3 separate regions of the Homo sapiens genome follow, and all the other regions are linked to region 1. Evidence: promoter capture Hi-C in human tissues and cell types (Jung and others, 2019). All regions are on one chromosome and are shown on one strand. The core of a region is centred on a gene start or on the middle of the fragment in contact, and the rest is flanking DNA. Distances in the headings are between cores, read along the strand shown. Region 1 holds the start of GP1BA (glycoprotein Ib platelet subunit alpha). Region 2 holds the start of PELP1 (proline, glutamate and leucine rich protein 1). Region 3 overlaps USP6 (ubiquitin specific peptidase 6).

Region 1 (3,025 bases), core at 199-2,698:
GAGAGACGGGAGATAAAATCACCAGGACTTGGTGATGGGGATGAAAGACGGGAGACGTTAGAGATGACTATTAGGGATTTTGTTTGTGTTGACTGAATGGTTAGGTAAATGAGTGGATGATGGTGCCACTCACCAGGCTGAGCAACACAGGAGGAGAAGCCATTTGGAGAGAGATGGTGAGTTCAGCTTTGAACATATTGTTTTGGTGTCTGTGGGACATCCAAGTAGAGATGTCCAGAAGGCAGCTGGACATATGTGCTTGTGTCTCAGGAGAAGGGTCTGGACTAGAGACATAGATTTGAGAGTCATTAGGTTGTAGGTGGTGGTTGAAGGCAAGGGAATGGATGAGGATAATCTCAGGTGGTTGCATAGCGTAAGAAAAGAAGAGAATGCCGGGCGCGGTGGCTCATGCCTCTAATCCCAGCACTTCGGGAAGCCAATGTGGGTGGATCACTTGAGATGAGGAGTTCGAGACCAGGCTGACCAACATGGTGAAACCCCGTCTCTACTAAAAATATAAAAATTAGCTGGGAATGAAGACAGCCTAAGCACAAACTCTGGGGGCAGTTTAATTGTTCAAGAAGGGGAATCTATGAAGGAGACTGAGAAGGCCCAACCAAACAGGTAAGAAGAAAACCAAGAAAATTACAGGGTCATGTGTCACAGAGGCCAAAAGGAGAATCCCAAGGGGCGAGTGGCCATGGGTATGCAGGCTGCCGAAATAAAGTAAGATCACAGTGGAGAAGTTTCCCATGGATGTAGAGGAGGGAGAGCATTAAAGACCTTGGTAAGAACCGAGTCAATGGAGTAGCAGGGGAAAGAAATCAGCATAGACTGGGGTGAGAAGGCAGAGAGAAAGGTGGGAGAGAATTAAAAGTAGGCAACTCTCAGAATGCAGCTGTGAAGAGGAAGAGAAGCGGGCATCTGGAGAGGTTTTTTTGTTTTTAAGATGGAGTTTTGCTCTTGTCACCCAGGCTGGAGTACAATGGCACGATCTCGGCTCACCGCAACCTCTTTCCACCTCCCGGTTTCAAGCGATTCTCCTGCCTCAGCCTCCCGAGTAGCTGGGATTACAGGCATGCGCCACCACGCCTGGCTAATGTATTTTTAGTAGAGACAGGGTTTCCCCGTGTTGGTCAGGCTGGTCTCGAACTCCTGACTTCAGGTGATCCGCCCGCCTCAGCCTCCCAAAGTTCTGGGATTACAGGCATGAGCCACGCGCCCGGCCCTGGAGAGGTTTTTAAAAGATGGCAGAAGGCTGTTTGGAGGAGTCCACCCCCATCTCCCCTGTGTAAAAGGAAAGCGGAAGAGAGAACCACAAAGAGGGCCTGGGGGAAAGCCGTGGAGTGAGGCGATAAGGGCTTGTGTCCAGGGGATTCCCGGTCACTGGAATCCCTATCAGGCCTGCATTTCCTCCTCACCCCCATCCCCTTCCTTGCCACTGGCTTAGTCCTCCATGGGGCTAGAAGAGAGAAGGACGGAGTCGAGTGGCACCCTAGAAGACGCTCTGTGCCTTCGGAGGTCTTTCTGCCTGCCTGTAAGCCGGGGTTGGTGCTGGGGCAGGAGAGGGGTCTGAGGGAGGGGAAAGAGCCAAGGACCTGGAGCTAGTAGTTTTAAGTTCTGCAGGCAAGGGTGGGAGATGGGAGTAGGGAGGACAGGAGGTGTGGATGCTGTTTCTGGAAGCGAAGCTGCAGGGGGAAGGGGGCTGGGGCCTGGGGGGATGCTTCCAGGGGATGCAGGGGGATCCACTCAAGGCTCCCTTGCCCACAGGTCCTCATGCCTCTCCTCCTCTTGCTGCTCCTGCTGCCAAGCCCCTTACACCCCCACCCCATCTGTGAGGTCTCCAAAGTGGCCAGCCACCTAGAAGTGAACTGTGACAAGAGGAATCTGACAGCGCTGCCTCCAGACCTGCCGAAAGACACAACCATCCTCCACCTGAGTGAGAACCTCCTGTACACCTTCTCCCTGGCAACCCTGATGCCTTACACTCGCCTCACTCAGCTGAACCTAGATAGGTGCGAGCTCACCAAGCTCCAGGTCGATGGGACGCTGCCAGTGCTGGGGACCCTGGATCTATCCCACAATCAGCTGCAAAGCCTGCCCTTGCTAGGGCAGACACTGCCTGCTCTCACCGTCCTGGACGTCTCCTTCAACCGGCTGACCTCGCTGCCTCTTGGTGCCCTGCGTGGTCTTGGCGAACTCCAAGAGCTCTACCTGAAAGGCAATGAGCTGAAGACCCTGCCCCCAGGGCTCCTGACGCCCACACCCAAGCTGGAGAAGCTCAGTCTGGCTAACAACAACTTGACTGAGCTCCCCGCTGGGCTCCTGAATGGGCTGGAGAATCTCGACACCCTTCTCCTCCAAGAGAACTCGCTGTATACAATACCAAAGGGCTTTTTTGGGTCCCACCTCCTGCCTTTTGCTTTTCTCCACGGGAACCCCTGGTTATGCAACTGTGAGATCCTCTATTTTCGTCGCTGGCTGCAGGACAATGCTGAAAATGTCTACGTATGGAAGCAAGGTGTGGACGTCAAGGCCATGACCTCTAACGTGGCCAGTGTGCAGTGTGACAATTCAGACAAGTTTCCCGTCTACAAATACCCAGGAAAGGGGTGCCCCACCCTTGGTGATGAAGGTGACACAGACCTATATGATTACTACCCAGAAGAGGACACTGAGGGCGATAAGGTGCGTGCCACAAGGACTGTGGTCAAGTTCCCCACCAAAGCCCATACAACCCCCTGGGGTCTATTCTACTCATGGTCCACTGCTTCTCTAGACAGCCAAATGCCCTCCTCCTTGCATCCAACACAAGAATCCACTAAGGAGCAGACCACATTCCCACCTAGATGGACCCCAAATTTCACACTTCACATGGAATCCATCACATTCTCCAAAACTCCAAAATCCACTACTGAACCAACCCCAAGCCCGACCACCTCAGAGCCCGTCCCGGAGCCCGCCCCAAACATGACCACCCTGGAGCCCACTCCAAGCCCGACCACCCCAGAGCCCACCTCAGAGC
Region 2 (3,025 bases), core at 196-2,695, 230 kb before region 1:
GACAACCATCTTCCTGGAAGGTAGCATAGAGCTAGGAAGGTCCCAGGAATGAAGGGTGGACACAGAAGATCTCGTGTTTATGGGTCTTGAAGGATGGGTAGAATTTGGGGGAGGTTTAGTGGGAGAGAAGGGAAGATAGGAGATTGTTATAAGGAGCAGCTATTATGGGCTAGAAATATGCCTTCTTAGAATCAGTGCCTTCACCCGGACAAGATGGTGGGGGTTCAAGCTAGAATGGGAGCAATGAGAAAGATGGAAAAGAGTGGACAGATCTGAAAACTACTCAAAGGATAAAATCAACAGGACTTGACAGATTGCTTATGGAGGTGTATGAAGAAGAGTTTAGAATTACTTGAGTGTCTAGCTTGCAGAACTGAATGGTTATCAGATTCCATTCTTATAGAAGTCCAAAGGCTCCTAACCCGGCCTAAAACGCTCTGCATGACCCGACCACTGCCTACCCATCTCACCAGTCTCATCTGTACCCACTCTCTTCCCCTCCACATCTGAGCCCCAGGAACGATGCCCTTCTTTCCAGTTCCTTCCTACCACAGGGTCTTCCCACATGAGCTCTCCTCTGACTGAACAGCCCCTCCCATATTTTTTCCCTACCCAACCCCTATTCATCCTTAGGGTCTCAGCTTAAACGCCGGTTTCTTTGGAAAAATCTCTGCCAGTCTTCAGATAAGGTTAGAGACCCCTGATATTCAATTCTCATCTTGTTTCGCAGCATTTTGTGTATCGCCACCACGTCTGTAACCGGAGCGCCTAGTACAGTATCTGACCCTCAATAAGAGCTCGGTAAATGTTTATTGTTGAATGCGTCATTCAGTCAGTCGAAACAATCCCCGAAACAGATATTGCCAGAGGAAAAAGAGACTTTTAGATTATACAACTAGTGAGTGACCGGGCCTGGAACCTAATCGATTCCTGTGTGCCGACCAATAGCCTAACAACAGAAAAATAAGGCCCATTTTTCCCCTGGAGAAACTCATGGCCGATAAAGGAGAAATACGTGCATCCCGTCCGGACTGATACCTGGATCCCCTTTCTGCCCGCAGCTCTCCTTCCTTCAACCTCCCTATCGCACTTGCACTGCACCGTAATCCCGGCGCACAGGTGCCGCGCCATCCTCCCCACAGGGCCGCGGGCACGCGGGCCACGGACTCACCTGGGCCCCGCCCACCGACCCATGCAGCCGCAATAGGCACATGAGCCCGGGCAAATGTGGGGCCGAGCGGTTTGGGGGATGCACCGGAGCAACGGCAGACCCCGTTCGAGGTTGCAGCAAACCAGAAACACTCTCCAGCAGCAGCAGGCGGAGCCGCGGGCCCGAGCTCACTGCCGAGAGACCCCCGGTCCCGCCAGGAACCCCAGCCGCGGAGCCCGCAGAGGGCCCACTCAGAACGGCTGCCGCCATCTTCCCCCGGGTTCCAGTGGTGGCGTGGCGCGATGACGCAAACACACCGCGACGGCCGCCTACTGGGGAGGGGGCGTGGGGAGGGGGCTGCGGTCTTGCGCACTGAGTGAAGGCAGGCTGGACTCGCGGGCTCAAGCTGGGAAGGAGCATGCGCGGAGAGAGCAGCCTGGGCGCCGAGGCAGCGGGGTGCTCGGTTCCCGGAGTGATGGCGGATGAGGCTGCCTGTGAGCGTGTCCGAGGCGGTCCTGTGATGTTAAAGGTACACGTGGTCCGGACAAAAGGCGCCAAAGTCGGAACGATTTCCATTTAGCGGACGGAGTCTTGGGACATCTTCGCTGTAGGAATCAATAACTCTCATTTTTTTTTTTTGAGACGGAGTCTCGCTCTGTGGCCCAGGCTGGAGTGCAGTGGCGCGATCTCGGCTCACCGCAACCTCCACCTTCCAGGTTCAAGCGATTTCCCTGCCTCAGCCTCCCGAGTAGATGGGATTACAGTCGCGCGCCACCACGCCCGGCTAATTTTTTTTGTATTTTTGTAGAGATGGGGTTTCACCATGTTGGCCAGGATGGTCTTGAACTCCTGACCTCAGGTGTTCCGCCCGCCTTGGCCTCCCAAAGTGCTGAGATTACAGGCATGAGCCACCGCACCCTGCCTAGGAATCAGTAACGTGTGTGTGTGTGTACGCGCGCCAAAGATTTATTTCTTCATTTCTTGCATTTCAAGTACTCTTCGATGTCATCCTTGGCCTGAGACTCCTTGCCATAGTCCTTAACTACTACACAACTGCAACCAACCACTTTACGGGGTTTCCCCTCTCTGTCGATTTTTACAGAGCCCTACCCATTCTCCTAGTTTCTTGTTGTCATCAACCTTAATTAGGTTGATTTGGTGTTCAGCACAAAGGCCTCCACCAACTTGACATACATAGTAGGCTCATCATAGTTGGATGCAAGCACACAAAGATGGGCTTGGCGTTTGTCTAAGGCTTTGGCAGCTTCGCGAATTCCACGTGCTAGGTCATGGTGGATGAGAGCGGTCTTCAGCACCTCTTGTGAAGCAGTATTAACATCCATTACCCCTCCAGCAGCAATGCCTTCCTCGGCCGTGGCGGTGGGTTACAAGTGAAGCTGAATCTTGAAGGTACCCAAGCCTCCGCCTCCGCGCAACTCGGCAGCGGCAGGGAAAGAGAAGGAATCAATAACTCTCTAGGTAACTTGAAATCACAGACATTTTTAACTACATTTGCAACTTCAGAAATGATACAAGACGTGCGCCTTGCAAAAGCCAATTCAAACAGTACAGAAAGGCATAAAGTAAAAAGAAAAACTGCTCCTCCCCCGCAAAGCCCTGCCCCAGTAGCGTGTATACTTTCCTAATATTAGTCTATGCACAAGCACATAAATGAATATTTTACAAGATTGGGGTCTGCGTGTGGCTTGTTTTCACTCATGGCCTTCTTTATGCTGTTTTTTAAACTGTGGTATGAATGAAATGGGTGCACCATGATTTAATAATTCTATTGCTGAATTAATGCTTAAAGGCTGCTCCAGCTTTTTGCTAATGCAAACTGTAGTGAACACGCTAATACCTCTATGTTTATGTTTG
Region 3 (3,025 bases), core at 391-2,890, 190 kb after region 1:
GGGTGGGGTGGCTCACACCTGTAATCCCAGGACTTTGGGAGGCCAAGGCAGGCAGATCACCAGGAGTTTAAGACCAGGCTGGCTAACATGGTGTTAGCTGGGTGTACTGGCATGCACCTGTAATCCCAGCTCCTCCCAGCTCCTCAGGAGGCTGAGGCAGGAGAATCACTTGAACCTGGGAGGCGGAGATTGAAGTGGGCCGAGATCATGCCACTGCACTCTAGCCTGGGCAACAGAGTGGGACTCCGTCTCAAAAAAAAAAAAAAAATCAAGACAAGTGGACTATATTGGCAGATTACTGGCTAGCATTCACTTATTCTACCATAGTCATGTGCTCTCTCCCTCAGGGATGGTAGTGACAGTCTTATTTCCTATTGATACAGGATTTTTTTCCTTGATTCCTTCGTGGGACTCAAGACAGGGGTGCCCTGTTTACTCAGCCCACTGTGCTCAACCTCTTGCAGGAGTGTGCAGGTGAGTGAGCAAGTGCAGGATCTGGCTGGCCACTACAGGCACCAGCATGAGCAAGCTCTTTGCGGAGCCTGTGACCAGACCAGGCATGAGCAAACGACTGCAGGATCTAGCTGGCTGCTCTGGGCAGCTGCAGGAGCAAGCTCCATTTGGGGTCTGCGGTGCTGCCCAAGTGGGGGTGCCTGTGATCCCAAATCCCCAGAGGGAGTGTTACAGTGCTCTCTTAGCGCCACTGTTTGAGGATGGGTATGTGTTAACAGCTCAGCTGGCCCCTAGCCCCATTGCGTGGGGTGGCTACCTGCCACTGGTGAGGGCAAAGGGTGAGTGTGACAGCCTTTTGGGTAGCCAAACTTGGTGGGTCCCAAGCTCTTGTCTGGCATCCAAAAAGAATGAGGTTGTGTGGAGCACTTGAAGGATGGTGAAGGTGGAGAATTTTACAGAGTGATCACAGTGGCTCTCAGCGGAGAGGGGAGCTAGAGAGGGGGTAGAAAGGGCAGGTCATCTTCTCCCCAAAGTCTGGCCATTTCTTCCCGAAAGTCTGGCCATCTCTCTCATCTACTGACTGAGTCTGGGGTCTTTATAGGCACAGGATGAGGGTGGGGCAGCCATAGGTATTTTTGGAAAAGGCAACATTTGATTGGTAAGAAGACATTATTCAGAAAGAACCAATCGGGAGGGAGTAAGCAAACAGGAATAGAAGTTCTCACTTTGGGCTGTGGGTTTCAGGCTTTTCGGCTCAAAGATGGGGTTTCACTGGGGGCCTGCCACATCTGCTTAGAATTTCTCAACTTCATGTCCTGCCTCTATCACTATCAAGTATTTATATGAAGAAACCTCTCCTAAGCCACACTCCAATCACCCCTCTTCCTCAAAGAGATTATCAGACTCTGACTTTTTCTCAGTTTTGGTCCTCTTGGAGTTTGGTTCTTTAGCTGTTTAAAATCTTATGAAGGCAAACTTTGATCATTTAGGCTCTTTTCTCAAAGTTCCAAAGTAGACTGCTCCCTAACAGGTAGGTTTTATTTTGTGGAATTCAGGTTTACAAATTGGACATTACTACATTAGCTTCTGCTACCTATAAAAGCTTTGAATAGGTGGGCTTTTATTTCATGAATTACCTGATTATCTGAAAATTAACTCTTTTGTCCTTCTTCAGCCCCCACTAAAGTGAGGTCAGCTCAGGGAATGCAGCAGAAATTCACCTGGAAGCAAGCGAGGCTGGGGCCCAGAAACCCCCTGGGCTGGGCCATGCTTCCAGTCCAGTTCCCATCTTTTATGGATGCCTAGCCCTGACCCTCAGAGGACCCTGGGTGAGGCCTGGAGGAGCCCCTCTTCCCAAATAGACTTCATTTGTCCCTTGAGGCTCAGCTCACTGCAGTTAACTAACTAATGAGTAACTCAGTGTAAGAACACACAATGCTAATTATTATAATTAATTATAATAGTGATAGTCATTAAAACAAGGAACTTCTGCCCAGCACTACAAGTGACTCACAGCCATCATCTCAGCTGATAAACAGCTGGGAGAAAGATACTCTTTCTTCCTTTTGACCCGTGAAGAAACTGAAGCTCAGAGAGGTTAAGGGATTTATCTACGGCTGCACAGGGACCCCTCCTTCAGGTCTGTCGGACTTGTATCCACCCCACCTCTCTGCCCCCTCTCCTGCCTCTCCTTTCCAGAAGGTTCTAGGTCCCAGGAACTCCAAGGCTCAACCCAAGGATAGAGATCCAAGGTCCTGCCGGGGCAGTCAGGAGGCCTTACGTGCCCTCTCCTGTGGCTTCCTTCTCAGCCGAGTTCTGTGCTGCTCTAAGCTGGGGAAGCCTACTCCCCAAGAAGCAGGACACCCGGAAGGTGTTTCCCCCTGGCTTTGAGGCTGGTTATACATTGCTTTCCTCCAGCAGATTAACATTTGCTAATGGGGCCTGGCACGGTGACACCAACGTAGGGTTGCTCTCTGCATGCCTGTGCTGTGGGGTTGGTGGTGGGGGCAAGGCAGTGGTGGGGGCAAGGTCAGGGCAGTGAGTGAGGTCGCCTGTGGTCATCCTCCACTGTGCTGGGGGGTTGTTATCTCTCAGGGCTTAGCACTTGTTGGGGATGGGTGAAGTCCAGTCCCGAGTCACAGTGTGTGTTGTGGGAGGTTGCTGATATTCATAGCCCTGTATGTTTGAGTAATGACAATATCCACCTCCACCTTCAGGGTGAGGAGCTGTTGGCCTATCTGTGTCTGTCTGTCTGTCTGTCTGTCATCTGCACCTGTCTCTCCGAGGGAAAGAAGGCAGGCCCCAGGGTCTTTCCCCAGGATGGCCTTGGGTGAGCTCCTGCTGTCCTCTCTGCCCAGGAAATGAAGGCCCTTTGAGGTCAGGTGGATGAGGATGTCAGTGTGAAGATGGACACTGTGCCTGGAGTGAACCTGAGCTGGATCCTGAATGAGATGCATGACCAGGACAAGAAATTGGTGGAGAAGAGCTACAAGGATGCCAAGGGCTGTTTCTTCAGCATGGTGGGTGGCCATATGTAAGCAGGTGTGCACACATGTGGGCACATGTGCTGCAT

The links. The method cuts DNA at HindIII sites, captures the fragments that hold promoters and counts their contacts. A contact is called where the count stands out against the background at its distance.
Region 2: the fragment with the promoter of PELP1 here is called in contact with the fragment with the promoter of GP1BA in region 1 in 2 of the 25 tissues and cell types used here (dorsolateral prefrontal cortex and spleen).
Region 3: a fragment that was not itself captured here is called in contact with the fragment with the promoter of GP1BA in region 1 in 1 of the 25 tissues and cell types used here (dorsolateral prefrontal cortex).

What each region holds. Positions count from the first base shown.
Region 1 is chr17:4,930,829-4,933,853 of GRCh38, forward strand. GP1BA (glycoprotein Ib platelet subunit alpha) reads left to right here and starts at 1,449. Exons shown (of 2, transcript NM_000173.7): 1 at 1,449-1,537; 2 at 1,771-3,025. The coding sequence starts at 1,777. The HindIII fragment of the contact is 8,753 bases long and covers 1,430-3,025 here.
Region 2 is chr17:4,702,692-4,705,716 of GRCh38, forward strand. It overlaps PELP1 (proline, glutamate and leucine rich protein 1), which reads right to left and starts at 1,446. Exons shown (of 17, transcript NM_014389.3): 1 at 1,172-1,446. The coding sequence starts at 1,420. PELP1-DT (PELP1 divergent transcript) reads left to right here and starts at 1,539. Exons shown (of 2, transcript NR_103482.1): 1 at 1,539-1,679; 2 at 2,508-2,838. It also overlaps the pseudogene RPS12P29. The HindIII fragment of the contact is 43,472 bases long and covers 1-3,025 here.
Region 3 is chr17:5,117,817-5,120,841 of GRCh38, forward strand. USP6 (ubiquitin specific peptidase 6) reads left to right here. Exons shown (of 38, transcript NM_001304284.2): 2 at 384-474; 3 at 2,811-2,972. It also overlaps a transcript of ZNF232 not described here. Among named protein-coding and RNA genes, the nearest start is that of USP6, 3.3 kb to the left of the region's middle. The HindIII fragment of the contact is 5,478 bases long and covers 1-3,025 here.